Linked DNA regions of Homo sapiens: regions 1 and 2 are each linked to region 3. Evidence: promoter capture Hi-C in 16 types of primary human blood cells and fetal thymus (Javierre and others, 2016). All regions are on one chromosome and are shown on one strand. Each heading gives the region's core, a stretch centred on a gene start or on the middle of the fragment in contact. The rest is flanking DNA. Distances are from core to core; before and after follow the strand shown. Region 1 holds the start of FAM81A (family with sequence similarity 81 member A). Region 2 overlaps FAM81A (family with sequence similarity 81 member A). Region 3 holds the start of LDHAL6B (lactate dehydrogenase A like 6B).

Region 1 (3,762 bases), core at 584-3,083, 230 kb before region 3:
GAAGGACAAAGAGAGGAAGAGAAAGATGCTTGGGGGCCTTGAGGAAGGTAAAGTGGGAATTTATCTGGTGAAATTAGAGCCAACGTAAATTTTCAATGGAACCTGTCCAAAGGTCTTTGTGACTTCCTCCTAGATAATGTGGCAGGCTGGGAGAAGAATAAGCAGGCAAGCGGGGGTGATTTTGGATTGAGGACTGAAATATAAGAAGCCCAACACATTGAAACAAAGGATTCTGGGATCCCAGACAGAATGGAAATGGCCAGCAACTTACATGCCCCAAGTGGAGAAACAGAGTCACAGAGGGGCTGAAGGATTGGAACAGCAAGTGCTTAAGGGACCAGGGTCCTCAGCGATGGTTAAAATCCAGAGCAGTATGTGGGTAGTATCAGCTAAGTAGGCTGAAGTCCGAGTTCAAGATCTCAAAGGTTTAGTCTTGTTCAAGACTGAACAAGTCCAAGATGTTAGTTGAAGCAAAGTGGAAACTGAGGCTACTGGGATAGATGTTGAGGAACTTCAAGGTCAAAGAATTAAGAGAGCTTCAACACAAAACCCAAAGTCACTGGCAAGAGACAAAGCAGAGAAGAGAATGAAGCTGGCTGCTCACGTTTTTTGTTTGTTTATCCCTTTTTTGGGGCATCAAGTGAAGAGATCCCCACTGTACCTGGGTGTACATCAGAATTGCCCAGAGAGTTCTGTTCCTTCTCTTCATCGTCTCCTGCTGCTCCTCCTTTTGGGGTTTGTTTTTAAAGTAGGGATTTTTAGGTCTTACTCCCCCACCCTGCCCCAGCCCCCAATGATTCTAATTTGGTATATCTGAGAGAGTCTAAAGACCAAGTTTTTCAAAATGTCCCAGGTGATTCTGAGGAGCCCCCAGGTTTGGGAAGCACTGGACCAGAAGATAAGAAGGAGGGTAGGGGCACAAGCAGATAGCACTACCTTCCGAGAGGAGACTTGGTTGGTGATGGTGCATTGGTTTGGAGGCAGCACTAAGGAGAAGCGGAAGAGCATCCCTACTCTGGTGAGACGGTGGAGGACACTAGAGAAGGCTCTTCTGCGGCAAGTTGTTCACTCAGGCTCTGGTGCTCGGGAGAGAAGGTGGGTTCAGCTACATAAAAAATGAAAATGCAAGAGTGTGGCTGCAGGATACAAGAAACAAGACATTTAAAGCCAGGTCGGAGTGACACAGCCTAGTGGCCTGCAGAGAGAGGAGGCTGAATAATGCGCTAATAACGTTTCCAAGCACCATGTAGTGTGGCTCATTAAATGGTTGGTAGGGCTTCATGGTTGAATTCCTGGACACTAAGTATTTTTCTATCCGTATGCTATCAGATTTCTAACATGTAACACATTAAAGGTTATTAAGCCCTCAGGTAAACAAGCTTGCAGAAGCTTATTCATTAGCATTGGAAACTGTGTCTTCCCAACCCACGTTCTTATACAGATGAAATCAGATTCGAATGAAAATCAAGGGTAGCTTTAAGTAGAAAGTCAGAAGGGGCAACCAGGGGTACCTGTGAGAGGGTACGTCCTCCATTCCCCTCCGTGGAAGAGGGAAGTTTATAGACAGTGGATATGGAAGGGGGCCTAAGTGTCCTTTTTAGTACCAGTCAACGCTAAAAATATTATAAGTGCCAAGGAACCCGCCCCCCCCAACACACACACACACACATACACACACGCGCATTCAGTGACAGGGCCCAGAAGGCAGATACAATGTGCAAATCTGGGGATGGTTCTCAATAAAGAATATATTTACTCTACAAACCTCTTATTTTAAAAGCAAGTTGCAAATGTTTGCCCTTGCTTCTGAGAGAGCTGCACTTTTGTGGATTCGAATCATTCTAGCATTATTTCTGGTTACTCCTATGAAATAATTTCCAACACTGCCGTACGCAGACTTTGAGCTGAGGACGAGAGCGCACGCGCACACACGCACACACACACACGCGCGCACACACACACATAAACCTCGTGCACATTGAAGAAATGACTCACTTAATTTGCTGCTGCCTGCCACGATTGGGTTTTGATTTTACCTGTTCAAATACAAAGTTTCCTATTAGATTAACTACAGGAAAGAAGAACTTAGGAGCATTAATCCTGATTTTGTTCATGTCTTTAGGGCACCAAAGAGGTTTTAACCTGTGCATCTTAAGAAGCCATTCTCCGGACCACCGACTGCTTGCTCCATAATCTTCCAGACAACGATAACATTTCTTACCACTTTAGGAGCCAATTAATGGAAACCCCTCCTAGAATAAACATGGTTAAGCTTTGCATCTCCGGTACCTGCAGAACCGTACTTTAGGGCTCTTTCTCAGCTCGCAGTAGGATGGCACAACAGCATTCTGGAACTGCAAAGACCCCCTAGCCTCTCGTTTGAAAGATGAGAAAAAGCGAAGGGGCGGAAGAGCAGATGGTTAACCTACCCAAGGTCACTCACTCTGAGTAGTGGGTCGGCTGACTCGCCTTTACCCCTGGCAATCCGTGCACCACCCCAGCTCCCCCAAACAGTCCCTCCGGGCGTCGGTTGGTTCGCTAGCATGCAGCCCCCGCGAAAATGCAACGCCAGTTGCGCTCTGTGCCCAACTTCAGCCCTTCGCGTCACATGCAGTTAACCCTCTCGCCCGCGGCATGTCACATGGGCCACGCGCAGCTCTCTCTACCCCACGCCTATCTCCTGAGAGGCTGCCCCAAGGTCACCGGCCGTCCCAGAGAGCTCCCGCCGCCCAGCCCCAGAGGCCGCCCGGCCGGGGTTCCCAGAGCGCGGCACTCACCGGCGCGGGGGGTGGGCGCGCCGCGGCTGCCCATGTCCTCGCCGGCGCGGCTGGGTGCGGCGGCCGCTGGCGCTGGCTGAGCAGGGCGCCCGGCTGCGGGCCCGCGCCGCGGGGAGCGCCGTCCAATCAGCGCGCGCCTGCCGCCTGGCCCGGCGCGCGGCCCGGCCGGGTTCGCGGCTCCCGGGGGGCGCGAGCCGCCGCGCGCCGCCGGAGCCGCTTCCGGGCGCGTTGCCTGGACGCGGTTGCCGTGGCAGCCCGAGCTGGAGGCTTTCCCCGCGCACCCGCGCCCAGCCTGGCGGCGCCGCCCCTCCTCCCTCCTCGTTCCCACACCCAAAATAGCCTCTGCTCGTCGCTGCTGTTTCCCACAGAGCTCGCATCCAAGCGCCTTGGAGTTGGCGGGCGGGGATTTCGCTCATTGGAAAATAAATCCTGTTGTAGGGATGGTTGATTTGGAGAGGTGTTGAAATGGTGCCTGACGGAGATCATAGCCATGGTGGTGGCACTGCAATTCTCTCTAGAGCCCCAATATACCTTATTTACTAAACCGCTTTCCCACAAAAATAGTTCTCTCCCCCGCCCCACCTCAAATTGGGGAGAAGTTATTTGATTAGGCCACGGTGACGCCCCACCTGTGCAGGTGAACGAACCCTCCGGGGCTGCCATGTGTCATTTACTGAATCGCCTTGACACCTGCAGTTGGGACCCAGGATCGTGTCTCATCGCAGCAGACACGACGAGAAGAAGAACCCCGAACACCCCTCCTCTTCCCAGCCCTTTCTTCTCCCGTCAGCTTCATCCCCTCCCAGCGCGTCCTGGCTCTTTCCACCTTCCTCTCGATTTTGGATTCTCATCAGGACGCACAAGCCCATTCACTCATAATTGTGCTTCCTCTCGGTGGGCAGGATTTCAGCGGAGTTGCGGGGGACACGACCTTTGCCTCATCTGGTTCGTGCCTCCTTCGCAGATACTGGTACTTACCCAGCAC
Region 2 (3,665 bases), core at 936-3,435, 250 kb before region 3:
TTAATAGCTGTCTTCAAAGATATGAAAGATTATAGAGTGAAACTATTCGACTAGTTCTTCTCTCTCTTCATTAAGAGCCAAACAAAATAAAATCATTTAATAATCAGCAAGGTAAATTTAGATTAAACATAACACTAACAGTAACTGTTATCAAACACTGGAATAAATTTAATTAGGATATTTCTGCAAGCTGTCTCCTTGGCGATCATTAAGAATAGACAAGACAGACAGCTTTGTTCTAAATGCAGTACTGCCTGGGAGGTAGGAGTTAGATGTGGGTGACCTCCTGACATGGAGCAATTCTGTGGAAAGGGACATAGGCCACCTGACTTTCACAAACCTTACCTCGATATCCCGATTAAGTTGCTTCACTATGGCAGTTATGTTTCTGATATGCTCCTCCAAGAAAAGCCTGGCCAAGCGGTCACCTCCCCCTTTGTTTTGCATTTTCTGCAAACTGTTGACAATGTCATCTTTAATCCGAAAGGCGTGCTCTACGAGGGCGGCGGTGGTTTTCTCATGGCAGAGGATCCTGTCTTCCAGCTGCTCCACGAGGCTTACAGATGAGTATGGTGCCATGGTCAGGGACTGGCTGTGTCGGGGCATGGTTCTCACTCGCCTGCAGAAGGGAACCATGAGGGTTGTTAATTGGGAAAAAATAATGTTTAAAGCCAGATTCAAAACTTCCCAGAGAAGTCTGGAAATACAAATTATCTATAACTACAAGCTAAATAGGGTTTGAGGCAGGATTTCTGCCTAAAAAAGTTTTCTTCACAAGCCGGGAAAGATCTTTAAATAATCATGCCCACAGACTTCAGTGTTTTAGAAGCGGTCTCCATGACTTCCAAGAGCAAGAGGCTGGCAGAGTTGGGTACACCGAGATGTCTCCCCAATATAATCTATGTTATCAAGATCAAGTGCATTAACAAAGTCTCCTAACATGCTCTCCTCCTCCTCCCTCTCTGAAACAGTGGTTACAAACTCAATGCCTACGTGGGTCAGGCAGGCGACATAAATGAGTGAAGCATACTACATATGAGGCAATAGGGAGTGTCAGGGATTTAGAGATCTGGAAAGGGCATTTCCCAGCTAAAGGGAGCCACAGTTCTGCTCCACCCATGAGTGACCATCAGGGATTTCAGGTCCCTTTTTCCAGATGATCTGATATTTCTCAAGAAAAGCTAGCAAATCCCGACTTGTATGTGAAATCGCTTGATTTTAAAATGTTAACGATTCATTTAAAAAGTATTTAAGGCCAGCACAGTGGCTCACACCTGTAATCCCAACACTTTGGGTGGCTGAGGTGGGAGGACTGCTTGAGCCCAGGAGTTTAAGATCAGCCTGGGCAACACAACGAGACCCTATCTCTACAAAAAAAATTATTTAAAAATTAGCTGGGCATGGTGGCACATAACTATAGTCCCAGCTACTCAGGAGGCTAGGTGGGAGATCACCTAAGCCCAGGAGGTCAAGGCTGCAGTGAGCTGTGACTGTGCCACTGCACTCTAGCCTGGGGAACAGAGTGAGACCCTGTCTCCAAAAAAAGTATTTAAGAACATGCTAGGCCAAGCAATGTACTTCATGAGCCAATTTTGGCCGATAGGCCCCTAATCTGCAACTTCTGATTTAAAAAGCTTAACAGGGATGTTAGCCTGAAGCCCCCGGAGTTATATTTCACTCTCAACAGGAAATTCAAGTCTACTGTAGGACTACTGTGAAATCTCTACTTCTTGGGGTCACTGAGTGGTCCACAGTATCCTATAAATTGAAAGCTAGAGGACACAATAGTGTTTCTCTTGCCCTTGAACAAAACCATTCTCCGATAATGTAACAGCCCAAGCTTTGATTTGTAACTATCACACCCACTAGCAGCCCCCATGGGATGAGTGGAAAGGAAAAGTATACCTTAGATGCATATTTTCCATATATTATACCTTTCCTTGGTGACACGAGAAGGAAATACAGTGCTCCGTTGGGCCATTTTCTTTTTAATAATTCACATCTGTTGAAAAAATAAGCACTAAATTATTTAACAGTTTATATCTAGAACTTAACCTCAAAAGCTTATTATTAAGTTGCTAAGTGGATCATAAATTATGTTGAAACACTGATAAGTTATATTATTAAATGTTTTGTATCTTATACATGAAATAAACAGCATATGTTTCCAAATAAGAAGAAAAGCAATCAAGCAAAATCAAAGCTCTTCTGAAATTAATATTGCTAAGCCTTGCAAGACAGACCAACAGGGACTGTACAATGGAGTTTCCTGAAGTTTCCTCACTCCAAATCTGCATCTCAAGCTTGAGAAACCACTTTTAACAGAAACTAGAGTGTTTAATAGGCTTATCCAATCTTATACTTCTCTGTAGAATTTTGCAGGAAACTACCTCAGTAAATTTGATCTCAGAAAACTTTTACTACTAATTCCATGGTAAATGAAGAGCACTTATTTCTAAATTAATCTCAAATAAAACAGCACATGATCAATGTGATCTGATTTGTGGGAAGATATCTATCCACCAAGGGAGTGAGAAAGATATTCCTCATTAGAACTTGAAAACTTTATAATAAGATACAATCATTCATATTTCATCTTGCATATAAGGAACATTTGGTCCCCACAACTCATTAGAAATGTGAAAAACACTAGAGGATGTTTAAAATACTTTATTATTTAGGTTCCTCAATACTGCTATCAATTGCCTTAAAATAATGAATGCCTACTAACTATGATCTGATTCCATAATTAATTCTCATTTAGATGCTGGATTCAGAAAGCATTTCTGATTGAAATCACTGTTTTGGCGTCATCTCTCTAGTGTTTTATTTTTGGAGTTTCAAAATGTGCACATTTCATTTTCTTAGACAAAGAACTTTAAACAAATTACATTTAAGGAAAAAAAAGTCATTCATGCCAAACAAGCTATGGTGCCCAAAGAGTTCTTCAGTGTCAAAGAGAAGCATTTCTGCCATATAGACTACAGTAGCCCTCCCTCATCTGTCAGGGGTACATTCCAAGACCCCCAGTGGATGCCTGAAACCGAAGCCTATATATACTATTCTTTTCTACACATACATACTCATGATTAAGTTTAATTCATAAATTAGGCACAGTGCTCTTGCACTTTGGGGCTATTATGAAGTAAAATAAGGGTTACTTGGTCACAAGCACTGCAATACCCCAACAGTCAATCTGATAACAGAGATGGCTATTAAGTGACTCACAGGGCCAGGTATACATGGTGTGGATATGCTGGACAAGAGGATGATTCCCGTTCTGGGCAGGAGGGAGCAGGATCGCACAAGATTTCATCACACTATTTCAGAACAACACACAATTTAAAACTTATGAATTGTTTATTTCTAGAATTTTTTATTTAATATTTTTGACCATGGTTGACCTTGGATAATGTGGAAAGTGAAACCATCGATAAGGGGGGACTACCGTAAATAAAATCAGGCCAGTGTGGGAAATGCTGTTATTTAGAATCATAGAATCTTTACAGTTTTAAAGTTGTAAGACATCTCAGTTGAGATATTAATCTACAGAATAGCCTAACTTAAGAAACATGTATTTGGCATCTATTAGGTAATTAAGTAACCTAACTAGGAAAAACTAAAATCCCTTCCCTCAGCAGAAGTCATCTAAACCAACCAGAAAA
Region 3 (3,398 bases), core at 566-3,065:
GTCTATCTGTTTTAAGCCTTTGGGTTTGTGATCTGGTTTCTCATGAAGCAAATCATATGGCTCGCCGTATTTTATTGATTCAACAAACGGAATTTATTAACTATCAAAGGAAGCAAAACAAAAGATTGTATATACTACTGCATTTTTTTGTATGTACATTTATTTTTACATTGTAGAAGAAGCTACTACTTTTTTACAGCATATAAATGAACATAGGTATAAACCAGCAAGAATGAAAGAAATAGCATATATCTAATGAAAAGAGTCGGAATTTCTAGAACACAATAAATACCTACATCCTACTTTTTGGGAACCAAATGCCAACTACATATATATAACATGGCAAGTGCTGCTACATCAGAGGTACCAAAAATACTTAGGAATTGTAAATAAGTATCGTCCAGCACGTGGATGCTCAATAAAAGAGCTGGAGGACTAAATAAATAGGAAAATCACTCTACCTACTTTCCTGTTTCCATCTTTTAGGAATTCAAGTTTATTCAAAATTTCGTTATATAATCCTGTATCTATGATCTCTTCAATAATTTCGGAATGGTAGTTTTAGGCAACTTTAAAGCTTAAGCTTATTCTGAATTTCCCAGAGTGTTTTTGCACTTTTTTTCAGATGGGCCTCTTCTTCAGGGGTCAGCTTTATCTTTATAAGGTTGGTAATACCGTTCTCTCCCAGGATACAAGGAATACTGAGGAATACTTCTTCATCTATTCCATAGAGGCCCTTAATTATGGTGGAAACTGGATGTATTCTCCTAAGATTCTTCAAAATACTTTCTGTTAAATCGGCCACAGATAGGCCAATGGCCCAAGAAGTATAACCTTTCATTTTAATAATCTCATAGGCAGTTGCAGTCACTTCTTTGTGGACATTTTTCCATTGCTCAGGATCTTTATCAGTTCCTATATCAGAGTTCAGATCCTTCAAAGGGACACCAGCTATGTTCACTCCACTCCACACAGGAACACTTGAGTCTCCATGCTCTCCGAGGATCCATCCATGGCAGCTTTCAGAATGGATACCAAGCTTTTGTCCAATCAAGAAACGAAAACGAGCAGTATCCAGATTACAGCCGCTTCCAATAATACGGTTTTTGGGAAATGCACTCAACTTCCAAGCTACATAAGTTAAGATATCCACTGGATTGGAAACAATAATCAGTTTGCAGTGGGGGCTGTACTGGACAATACTGGAAATCATTAACTTGAAGATGGCCACATTTCGCTGGACTAAATTAAGGCGCGTTTCTCCCTTTTCTTGGCGTGCACCTGCTGTGATAATCACTAGGTTGGAGTTTGCTGTGACAAAGTAATCTTTGCTACAAACAATATTTGGCATTTTCGTGAAAGGGCTGCCATGTTGAAGATCCATCGTCTCACCCTTCAGTTTGTCTTCATCAAGATCCACAAGGGCAAGTTCATCACTCAAGCCTTTTAATAAGATGCTGATAGCGCAGGCCATGCCCACCGATCCAGTTCCTATGATGGAGACCTTACTGTGATGAACGGGCTTCTCGGAAGTGAAACGCTCAATAAGCTCACTCTTCACAGTCGCCATCTTGCTCACGGGGGTGAAGAGCCAGGTGCCGTTGAGCGGGATGCGCGTTGCTTGACGCGGACACAGGGCCATCCCCAGGCATAGGAAATTCGCTCCCACCGAGCTCACTCTCTGGCTGGCCCGCACAACAGGCACAGTCCAACTCATGGCTGCTCACTGAAGAAGTGGAGAGAGAGAATGGAAAAAAGCTGCTGATCCGAACGTTGAGACGCCAAGAGAGCCGTTGGCAGGACCTTCAGCACTCTACGGCAGGTGCGCGTGCCCCGCCCCCTGGCCCTCTACTGCGGCTGCGCGGGCCTTGCCAGAGTCTCCGACACGTGCTTTCCGTGGGTGCTCAGACTAAGGCAGTGAAGGGCTGCTTCTCTAGCAAGTGATTTCTGGAGTTAGTTTTGCTAAGAGTATTATCAATAGTTGACATGCTTAAGAGGCTAACCGAGATCCCTGGAATTACTAGTTTTTTATTTTTAATATGAATGCTGAGGAAACATGCTTCTGTTAACTACAGATGAAAATAAGGTTACGTTTTCTGAACCGTGACCCTGCCAGGAAGGATAGGGCTCTATGCTTTGCGTACTGGTGGCTGCCTGCACCATCTCCCAGTGTCCCAGAATTGGGCGCCTGCTTTCTGGTCTATGGCGCTGGAGGCCTATTTTGAAAGGATTCCACTGCCTTGGTGCCAGTCCTGGCCAGGACCCACCCTGGGACAGTCGGCTGGGGCTTCAGCAGGGTAGGGGCCGGCTGGGAGTCACTCCAGCACTAAATCTCAGCATACTACTGCATATTTTTGGAAAATGAATCACCCTGCTACATGTATTAGCTGCTGAATAAATGGATTTTCGTCTTGCCTCTTGCTGGAATCACAGACTGGCATTCCTTGTCTCCCCATGCCTACTGGTAGTATAAATCAAGGCCCAGAGTGCACTTTTGGTGTTCTTATAAAGCCCATCAGTATTGGGTGCCTACTGGATGCCAGGCTGTGTGGGGCTGCTGATGATAAAAAAGTTAAGTTGAGGTCGTGGTCTTGGGGACTTCCTAGTGCTATGGAAATCCCCTGGTCTCATCCATCATCCCAGCTGATCTCTTGTTAAACAGAGTATCTGAGCATGAGTTTCTGGCCAGATTGGTGCAACTTTGATACCACTTCTGGGAGAAACTGCAAAGCCTCAGATGACATGGCTCATTGCAGTGAATTACTGAGCATGAGGGGCTTCACTTTTGCTCTGGCTTAGCTAAAATTTAGGAAAAGTATTGAGTATGTCACTTAGACACCCCTATGGATCCACTGAAGAAGGGGTATGGGGACTTGAGAGCTGGAGTTCTGATTACGGATCAGCTGGGCCATCCAGGCAGCCAGATACTCATCAGCATCTGCAGGCCTTCCCCACTAAGTCAGCTAACAAGTAAGACGTGCACAGCCTTCCTGTGACAGTGCACAATGAAATCCCAAATGCAACATCTGGAAATCCACATGTTGTGGTGAGGGTAGCCATGACAGCTTTGGTTTTTTGTTTGGTGAAATTAGATTTTTTGTTCAATAAATGATTTTGTTCAATTAATTACATTTTGTTCAATGAAATTCGATTTCTTTCCATTCTTGGCCAGGTATCCTATGACATGGATGGCTTTTGTGAAAGGAACCGGGATGTGCTTTTTATGGATCTCATCGAGCTTATGCAGAGCAGCGAGCTGTAAGTATGTTTTGCCATAGCTGACAGGGGATATAGGTTTGATGAAATTTTCAATATGAAAACAAACTTATGAGCTGGGTGTGGTGGTGTGTTCCTATAGTCCCAGCTACTCAGGAGGCTAAGGCAGGAGGATCACTTGA

What was found. Contacts are between HindIII fragments. The CHiCAGO score rates a contact against its expected background, and 5 or more counts as called.
Region 1: a contact is called between a fragment that was not itself captured here and the fragment with the promoter of LDHAL6B in region 3, in 1 of 17 cell types (M0 macrophages). The highest score is 5.2, in M0 macrophages.
Region 2: a fragment that was not itself captured here is called in contact with the fragment with the promoter of LDHAL6B in region 3 in 1 of 17 cell types (naive B cells); the score reaches 5.2 in naive B cells.

The regions. Positions count from the first base shown.
Region 1 is chr15:59,437,298-59,441,059 of GRCh38, reverse strand. FAM81A (family with sequence similarity 81 member A) reads right to left here and starts at 2,874. Exons shown (of 9, transcript NM_152450.3): 1 at 2,778-2,874. RefSeq lists a silencer at 2,647-3,176. The HindIII fragment of the contact is 883 bases long and covers 1,392-2,274 here.
Region 2 is chr15:59,456,887-59,460,551 of GRCh38, reverse strand. It overlaps FAM81A (family with sequence similarity 81 member A), which reads right to left. Exons shown (of 9, transcript NM_152450.3): 2 at 1,906-2,002; 3 at 346-619. The coding sequence starts at 1,925. Among named protein-coding and RNA genes, the nearest start is that of FAM81A, 21 kb to the right of the region's middle. The HindIII fragment of the contact is 240 bases long and covers 2,066-2,305 here.
Region 3 is chr15:59,205,260-59,208,657 of GRCh38, reverse strand. LDHAL6B (lactate dehydrogenase A like 6B) reads right to left here and starts at 1,815. Exons shown (of 1, transcript NM_033195.3): 1 at 70-1,815. The coding sequence starts at 1,717. The coding sequence ends at 572. MYO1E (myosin IE) reads left to right here. Exons shown (of 28, transcript NM_004998.4): 15 at 3,173-3,258. The HindIII fragment of the contact is 11,888 bases long and covers 1,042-3,398 here.